Linked DNA regions of Homo sapiens: all the other regions are linked to region 1. The links are contacts of gene promoters, found by promoter capture Hi-C in blood cells and fetal thymus (Javierre and others, 2016). All regions are on one chromosome and are shown on one strand. The core of a region is centred on a gene start or on the middle of the fragment in contact, and the rest is flanking DNA. Distances in the headings are between cores, read along the strand shown. Region 1 holds the start of STRAP (serine/threonine kinase receptor associated protein). Region 2 has its middle 180 kb from the start of EPS8. Region 3 overlaps PTPRO (protein tyrosine phosphatase receptor type O).

Region 1 (2,976 bases), core at 413-2,912:
GAATCCAAATGAGCAGGAAATAATACATTCTTTAGAGCCAAGTATGTACCATAACTTACCAATTATATTCTTATCTACACACAATGAGCAATAAATGAACATGTATCAGTATCTGACCAGTTGTGTCATTTTGAGTGGGTCTTTTATTTACCTCCATCAGTAATGCAACAATCTATTTAATCAGTAAACAGTCATGCTGAGTATTCACTAAATGCCATTCACTTTTCTGGCACTAGAGTACAAATGACAAAGCCATAACCATTGCCATTAAGGAGTTCATAAATGTGTGAGTGGTGCGTATGTGTGAGACAAAAGGGAGAGGATGGCACAAAGGAGGAGTCGAACAAGATAAAATGAAAAACATATATAGTAAGTGCTTTACCGTAAGTGAATGAACGAGAGTACTAAGGAAAAAGAATGGAGACGTATTTCAAGTTCTCACGTTGTTTGACTCGAATCTTGTAGACGGTGTTTGCTGCAAAAAGATGAAGAAAACATTCACAGACATTTATGTTGATTACATATTTATTGCTATGTGCCCAGACGTTTTGACCTTGGGGATAAAGTAGCAAAGAAAACACAAAAATCTCTGTTGTATTGGGTTTACATTCTATCAATAAAGATACAACTTGCCCAGAGAAAAGCCCTCTCCTGGTTAGGAAACAGTATCAACAATTAACAGCTCTGGTGGTTTCACAGAGCCACAGTGGGCTGCCTGCTGCAGACAATATCAGAGTTTGTTTATATTTAAATATTATTTTAATATTTCTATTTTTGTCCATGTATTATAATGCACATCTATGTAATTTGCAAATCATCACTCATATATACATCATATCAAAAGGTGTAAAAGTTTTTGATAGAATTCAGCATTCATTCGCTTATAAAATGAGTGAAGGCTCACTTTACGGATGAGAGTATTTCATCAAAAAAATTGGGGATCTACGACTCTAGAGTTCTCCGAAGTCCACCAAGGAAAAAGTAACTTGAATTTAATCGCATTTAAAACTATATAGTATCCACTCCTAAAACATTAGCAACATAGGAAAACTTACACAGCGGAAGAAATGACTGGGGATTTTTTTTTTTTTTTTAATACATGGTCTCGCTCTGTTGCCCAGGCTGGAGTGCGGTGGCGCGAGCACCGCTTACTGCGGTGTCGACCTCTCGGGCTCGAGTTATCCTCCCACCTCAGCCTTCCAAGTAGGTGGGACCACAGGCACCACCACTCCAAGCCCGTATATGGTTTTTAAATAAGACAAATTGCAAAAAACGTTGCCAGACAGCGTTCGCTGGTTTGGGCCGTCACTGGGTATGGCTCGTGTCCGTCTAGATATTCAGAGGCCGAGCACAGTCCTCAGTAGGGCTGCTCGGCAGGTACACAGCTGACGCTGGTCCTTGGACTTATGGGAGTGGGAACAACTTTCAACTCGGCCGCGGACCAGGAAGGCGTTCTGACCCGCTAGAGCTCGGGGACAGGGACCCCATCCCGGTGCCTAGAGCGTCTCCCTTAGTCGGCGTGGGCCAGCGCCAGTTACCTCACGAGCACTGAACTAGCGCCTGCGCCCTTCTATACTTCTCGCTCTTTCTTCAAGTCACTTCTACCCGGCGAGCCCGCCCTCCCGCCAATCGTCATTTCCGGCGGGTGCTCTGCGTCATTTACGTCGTCACTTCCTGCCGATGCCGGTGTGGACGCTGTGAATCGTGGCTGGCCCGGTTCTCCGCTTCTCCCCATCCCCTACTTTCCTCCCTCCCTCCCTTTCCCTCCCTCGTCGACTGTTGCTTGCTGGTCGCAGACTCCCTGACCCCTCCCTCACCCCTCCCTAACCTCGGTGCCACCGGATTGCCCTTCTTTTCCTGTTGCCCAGCCCAGCCCTAGTGTCAGGGCGGGGGCCTGGAGCAGCCCGAGGCACTGCAGCAGAAGAGAGAAAAGACAACGACGACCCTCAGCTCGCCAGTCCGGTCGCTGGCTTCGCCGCCGCCATGGCAATGAGACAGACGCCGCTCACCTGCTCTGGCCACACGCGACCCGTGGTTGATTTGGCCTTCAGTGGCATCACGCCTTATGGGTATTTCTTAATCAGCGCTTGCAAAGGTGAGCAAGGCCGCAATCCTGGTCCTCGACGGCTGGGACTGGGCTGAAAGGGATCGGGACCCGCACGCTCCAGTGCCGAAGCGGTGGTGTGGTGAGGGGGGAGGGGGCGATATTAACATCTGAGATGAGAGCCAACACTGGTCCGGTGGAGAAAGGAGTGTGTTAGGGAATCCGCAGCTGGAGCCGAGAGGACGCTTTTGTAGAAACTATTACCTCCAACTAAGACCTCTCTCCTTATTTTATTTTTATTGCTATTTTTGAAGGAGCTGGTCAGCATTTGCCTAGACTCTCGGGACAACACGGTAAATAGCTTTCAAGGATTTGGGGAAAGGAGAAATTAGGCCAGGCCGTGCAATACCTTACAAAGACGTTCGCTCTTGTCTCACTGGATATTCCTTTGTGGTATTAGCCTCATTTTTCAAATGGGAAACTGAGATTCAGGCTAAGATGTCTGTCCAAAATAAGACTAAAATCTAGATTGTTTTGACGCAGATCAGTATTCCCAGCCAATTACAGATGCTTTTCAGAGAGAATGATCTGTTCAGCTCTTCAGTTAATTTATTACTGCACATTCCTTAGTGCCTTCAGTGGGTGGTGGTAGTTAAATAGCTGAAACAATTTTTCCACTTTGTCATTGAACATCATTGTATATTTACATTTGAATCTTAGACTTTAAGTAATCTGAACTTATAAATTACATGTTTTAAAAAATATTTTCTAGATGGTAAACCTATGCTACGCCAGGGAGATACAGGAGACTGGATTGGAACATTTTTGGGTCATAAAGGTGCTGTTTGGGGTGCAACACTGAATAAGGATGCCACCAAAGCAGCTACAGCAGCTGCAGATTTCACAGCGTAAGTGTAGCCAAGATGGCTAAC
Region 2 (2,729 bases), core at 176-2,675, 270 kb before region 1:
CTTAGGAGAGAAAAAGAGAAAAGAGGAGAAAAAATATCAGAGGAAAATGCCTTCTAATGATGAGAAAACATTGATTCATACATCCAGAAACTCAATGAACCCTGAATAGGCAAACCACCAAGAAAACCACATTAACTTTATAATCAAGCTGTTGAAAATGAAAGATACCAAAAAGAACCTTGAAAAAAGCCAAAGGGAAAAGCATGAATGATGGCTGCCATGTCATCAGGAACGATGAAAGCCAAAAATCAATGAAATGGCATTTTTAAAGTGCTAGAGTTAAAAATGGTAACCTAGAATTTTGTATACAGTGAAAATATGCTTTAAAAAGCAAGGTGAAACTGCTCCCACTTTTGGCCAAGGTGGAGTCAGATGGACTAGATTTACCCTCCACTCTGAAACAATTGAAAAAAACAAAATATATGAAAGGGCGGTTTTCAAGATATTGAACACTAGGCAATGAATGCCAGTCATCACAGAAAGATAAATGCATGAGGAAATCCTACAATTGTTCCAGCTTTCTGCCTAAAGATTGTTTCTGGCTGGGTGCAGTGGCTCACGCCTGTAATCCTAACACTTTGGGAGGTCAAGGCAGGAGGATCGCTTGAAGCCAGGTGTTTAAGACTAGTGAGACCCTGACTCTAAAAAAAAAAAAGAAAAAATACACACAAAACAAAAAGATTGTTTCTAAGCTATAGTGCAGGGAGACCATGAGGACTCCAGATCCCTTCAGTTGAGAAGACAAGTTGATAGTGTGAGAAGGACAAGGGAACTAAAGTTCACAGGACAGAGTGGCGGAGAGGAGAGAACTATACAAAGAGAGAGCTCCACAGATCTTCACAGGGTCCCCATAGATTCTTCAAGTTAGTATTGATAAGGGCATACATAGGAGAAAACCGCCCAAGGCTGAGAAAAGAACCACCTGAAAGAATTGGAAGGAACAATTTCCAGAGCTGACACAGGATCAGAAATAGTTCTCATTCCCACCAGCCAAAGTGAAAGACATTATAATTCGTGGAACAATAGGTGGAATATTCAGAAGGGATTTGCTTAATGGTGGGATAAAATTAGCCCTTGTATAAATACTGCTTTGGTTTAACCTGACAAAGCTTAAAAGCAAGATCAGAAAGGATCAAACTATTTCCAAGTAACTTAATAGTATCCCAAAACAAAGCTCAATAATATTTTATAAAAATAAAAGTATGCAACATATAAGATAAAATTCCCAATGTCTGACATCAAATTAAAAATTATATGCCATACAGAGAAATGAGACCTCTAGTGAAGGCAACAAAATCAATTAAAATCAAGCTAGAAGCTACAAAGATGATAGAATAAACAAGGATATTAAGACAGATTTTTTTTTCAATTTTCTATTATGGTAAAATATACACAAAATTCACCATCTTTAACATGTTTATGTGTATGATTCAGTGGTATTAAATACATTCATAATGCTATGCAATCATATCACTGCTGTTCTTCTCCAAAACACTTTTCATCTTGTTAAATGGAAACTCTATACCCATTAAACAGTAACTGTGGATATTAGTCCCTTAACAGACATACAACTTGGAAACATTTTCTCCAAATACGTGGGCCGCCATTTTTGCTCTGTTGATAGTGTATTTTCATGCACAACTAAAAAAAAAAATTAATGAACTCCAGTTTTCTATTTTTTCCTTATACTTTCTCTGTTTTTGGTATAATATCCAAGAAACAATTGCCAAATTCAATGTTGTAAAGCTTTTGCCCTATGTTTTCTTCTAAGAGTTTCATAGTTTTAGGTCTCACATTTAGGTCACGGATCCATTCAAGTTAAAGGCCCCAACTTCATTCTTTTGTATGTGAATACCTAGTATTTCCAGCACTGTTTGTTGAAAAGACTGTTTTCTCCCCTATTGACTGGTCTTGGCACCCCTGTGAAAACTCATTTGACCATACAGGCAACGGTTTATTTCTGGACTCTATTCTATTTCATTGGTCTACATGTCTGTCTTTTGTTTTTCAACTTTTATTTTAGATTTGGGGGTACATGTACAGATTTGTTACAAAGGTATATCACGTGATGTTGAGGTTTGGGGTGTGAACACACCCATCACCCAGATAGTACCCCATAGGTAACAAAGTACCCCATAAGTAGCTTTTTCACCCTTGCCTCGACCTCTGTCCCTCCCCCCTTTTGGAGTCCCCAGTGTCTACTCTTCCCATCTTTATGTCCATGAGTACCCAGTGTTTAGCTCCAACTTATAAGTGAGAACATGTAGTATTTGTTTTTCCATTTCTGCATTAATTCACTTAGGATAATGGCCTCCAGTGCCATCCATTCTGCTGCAAAGAACATGATTTCAGTCTTTTTATGGCTGGGTAGTATTCCATGGTGTATATTTTCCACAATTTCTTTATGCAATCTATTGTTGGTGGGCACTGAAGTTGATTCCATGTCTTTGCTGTAGTGAATAGTGCTATATGGACATGAAGGTGTATGTCTTTTTGGTAGAATGATTTGTTTTCTGCTCTTATTGCCCAGGCTGGAATGCAATGGCACGATCTCGGCTCACCACAAACTCTGCCTCCTGGGTTCAAGCGATTCTCAGCCTCCTGAGTAGCTGGGATTACAGGCATGCACCACCATGCCCAGCTAATTTTGTATTTTTAGTAGAGATGGGGTTTCTTCATTTTGGTCAGGCTGGTCTCGAATGCCCAACCTCAGGCCTCCCAAAGTGCTG
Region 3 (2,834 bases), core at 150-2,649, 310 kb before region 1:
GACTCTGAAGAGTTAGGCGATTCTCTAGGATAACACAGTCAATAAAGCAAAACCATAACTCAAACAGGTCTTTGGAATCCATTCCTTTGTTATTTTCCATATGCCAGAGTTTTTTAGAAGCAACACAGATGGGGGTGTGTGTATACGAGTATGCATATATATACTACTGTACTGCTACAGTAAGAGCCAAGTGGAAATCTAGAGATTTCTCCTATCAAGGAAGCTGGATATATATGCCCTTCTTTTCAATTGCAATATATTAAGGATTGGTAACTTGAACCAAAAAAAAAAGGTGAGTGCTAACCTTAGAGAAGTAAAACTTCTATTTTCTCCAAGAAGATTAAGAAGTATGATATTAAACAATATATAATACCTATCAACAAGAATTTTAAAATGTATGTATATTTCTTTGTGTTTGGCAAAGCCCGGTTCAACTGGATGACTTTGATGCCTATATTAAGGATATGGCCAAAGACTCTGACTATAAATTTTCTCTTCAGTTTGAGGTGAGTTGGTTAAGGCATTTTCTACCTTCTGTAATGGAAAGGGCCTGGGAATTGGGGGGTTTGTGTTGCGGTCATGTCCCTGCTCACTGGCAGTGCGTAACAAAAAGGGTATTGGCCTGGGGATTGCTGATCTGCTGGTTTAGAGCAAGGGTTGTCAATCCTTGCTTAGTAGGCAAGGCCTCAGGTGGCACAAATGAGATGAGGGGAAGAAGAGAATAGGTGCAGGTACTGAGGTGAGCAAACATGGGTATAGTAGAAGCCATCATTGAAAACCAGGGAAATCGAGAGTACAAGAAGAAAAATGCAAGCTGAGGCATGAAGCCTGAGACAGAATTTCCCTTTCAGGGGATTTGTAGTGTTTCTCATGCTTCTTAGGCCACAGTAGTGGCGGATAGTGGATAAAACTGACCCCCTTTGTGTCCTGGGCACATAACATCCTGGAGTAGGGCTTTTCAAGCTATAGGACTCCTGGCATTCTACTTAATAACTTTTGTGCAGTTTTATTTTCTTTCCTTGGACAAATTGGGGAGATAAAGTTACACATGATTTGTGTTAAGAAAAAAATTGACAACATCTCTTTTTTTCCGAAGGACACATATTTCTTTGGATCTAAAACCATATGTCAGAAGAGATGGAAGTGAGTGAGTCTAATATCTCAGCAGTGTGGGGGAAGATAATTAGTTCTCACTTTTTCTTTCTACATATTTTATAGCTCATAACACAGTCTAAATGGCCCCCCATCCTTCAGGTTTCTATAGCATGGCTTGAGTGGTCAGTGATTCAGGGAAAAGGGGAAGATAAAGTGATTTTTCTAAATTCTGTAGTTTTTTTTTTTTATAAAGCCTTTTAAGTGCTCTTTTCTATTAAGGTAGCTGCTTTTTCTTCAGTTTTTAAAATCATTTCTCCTTTCCACTTCTCAGCCAAGGACAGCTTTAGTCTGCAAAAAGCATCAGTGGTCCTGGTGTGGAGACACTAATGGGGAATTTGAGGATGAGAAGAATCTTATACATTACCAAATACAAAGACCGCTAACTACCACCTGTGTCCTGAAAAATTCCACACAGAGCCTGCTCACTTATCCATTGTATCCAGGTGCATAGGATATTATAGATGCTACACCAAATGCTATACTCAAAGAAATTCAATTTGAATTGGAAATGAATGAGGAGGATGGCATTTCAGAAAGTATATCAAGGAAAGGAGGACTTTTTTTCTAAGCAAACATGAGGCAAAACTCTGAAAAAATAAATAGCTAGATGATTCTAACGATGATAGAAATTATGGTATAGCTACACTTTTACCTTATTAAAGCCACATTTTCTTAATTCCTTCAAGATGGCATGCCCTTGGTGGCACAGCTGGATCATAACCTCTGCTGGCAACTCACAGTTTATGTCTTGAAACCCAAGCATAACTATTACTGTTTCTGAATTGCATGAAAAAAAATTCAACAAGTCATTTTCCAGTAAACATATTCTTTTAGTTGTGAGTGACAAAAACATAGCTCAAACTTGTTTAAACTAAAGGAAAGGGGGTTTATTCAAAGGATACTAAGGTATCTCATACAATCAAAGAAAAGGTTGAGTAGCTAGACTACGTGCAGGGAAGCAGCACAGTTTCAGGGATGACTGGAGCCAGGGGCCCCTCTATTTCTCATTTCTGCTTCTCTCTCTGTTTTGGTTTCACTTTGTTTCACTGAACAAAGAGAAACAAAGAGAAACGCAGCCAGAGAGGGCAGATGTTTGTGTTCAGTGAAACAACAAACAACCTCTTTTTCTGTCACTTTTGTTTTGTTTTGTTTTGTTTTTTGAGACAGTCTCACTCTGTTGCCCAGGCTAGAGAGCAGTGGCGCGATCTTGGCTCACTGCAACCTCCGCCTCCCAGGTTCAAGTGATTCTCCTGCCTCAGCCTCCTGAGTAGCTGGGACTACAGTTGCCCACCACCATGCCCGGCTAACTTTTGTATTTTTAGTAGAGACAGGGTTTCACCATATTGACTAGTCTGGTCTCGAACTCCTTACCTTGTGATCTAGCTGCCTCAGCCTCCCAAAGTGCTGGGATTACAGCCGTGAGCCACGATGCCCAGCCCAACCTCTTTTTCATAGTGAAAAGCAGCCAACAACAACCCTTGAGCACCACAGCCTTTTGTTTCCATGGTTTCCAAAGGGAATTACTGTCTGTCTTTCTTGTTTGTAGTTTGAAAATTAACAGGGGAGGATTTTGATGGACGAGCCTGTGTCATGGTGCCCATTCAAACCAATCACAGCCAGAGAGGGCAGATGCACAGAATCTCTAAATGGAACCATGTGGGCTCAAGTAGCAAAACCTA

The links. The method cuts DNA at HindIII sites, captures the fragments that hold promoters and counts their contacts. A CHiCAGO score of 5 or more calls a contact.
Region 2: a fragment that was not itself captured here is called in contact with the fragment with the promoter of STRAP in region 1 in 5 of 17 cell types (M0 macrophages, M2 macrophages, M1 macrophages and 2 more); the score reaches 8.3 in M0 macrophages.
Region 3: a fragment that was not itself captured here is called in contact with the fragment with the promoter of STRAP in region 1 in 14 of 17 cell types (monocytes, M2 macrophages, M1 macrophages and 11 more); the score reaches 14.1 in monocytes.

Annotation. Positions count from the first base shown.
Region 1 is chr12:15,880,725-15,883,700 of GRCh38, forward strand. It overlaps STRAP (serine/threonine kinase receptor associated protein), which reads left to right and starts at 1,663. Exons shown (of 10, transcript NM_007178.4): 1 at 1,663-2,095; 2 at 2,817-2,952. The coding sequence starts at 1,984. It overlaps LOC102724146 (a long non-coding RNA gene), which reads right to left and starts at 1,574. Exons shown (of 6, transcript XR_007063230.1): 1 at 1,056-1,574; 2 at 383-475. RefSeq lists enhancers at 1,081-1,310, 1,621-1,740. The HindIII fragment of the contact is 32,342 bases long and covers 1-2,976 here.
Region 2 is chr12:15,609,015-15,611,743 of GRCh38, forward strand. No RefSeq gene overlaps it. Among named protein-coding and RNA genes, the nearest start is that of EPS8, 180 kb to the right of the region's middle. The HindIII fragment of the contact is 637 bases long and covers 1,108-1,744 here.
Region 3 is chr12:15,568,993-15,571,826 of GRCh38, forward strand. It overlaps PTPRO (protein tyrosine phosphatase receptor type O), which reads left to right. Exons shown (of 27, transcript NM_030667.3): 19 at 425-506. Among named protein-coding and RNA genes, the nearest start is that of EPS8, 220 kb to the right of the region's middle. RefSeq lists an enhancer at 2,049-2,238. The HindIII fragment of the contact is 5,261 bases long and covers 1-2,834 here.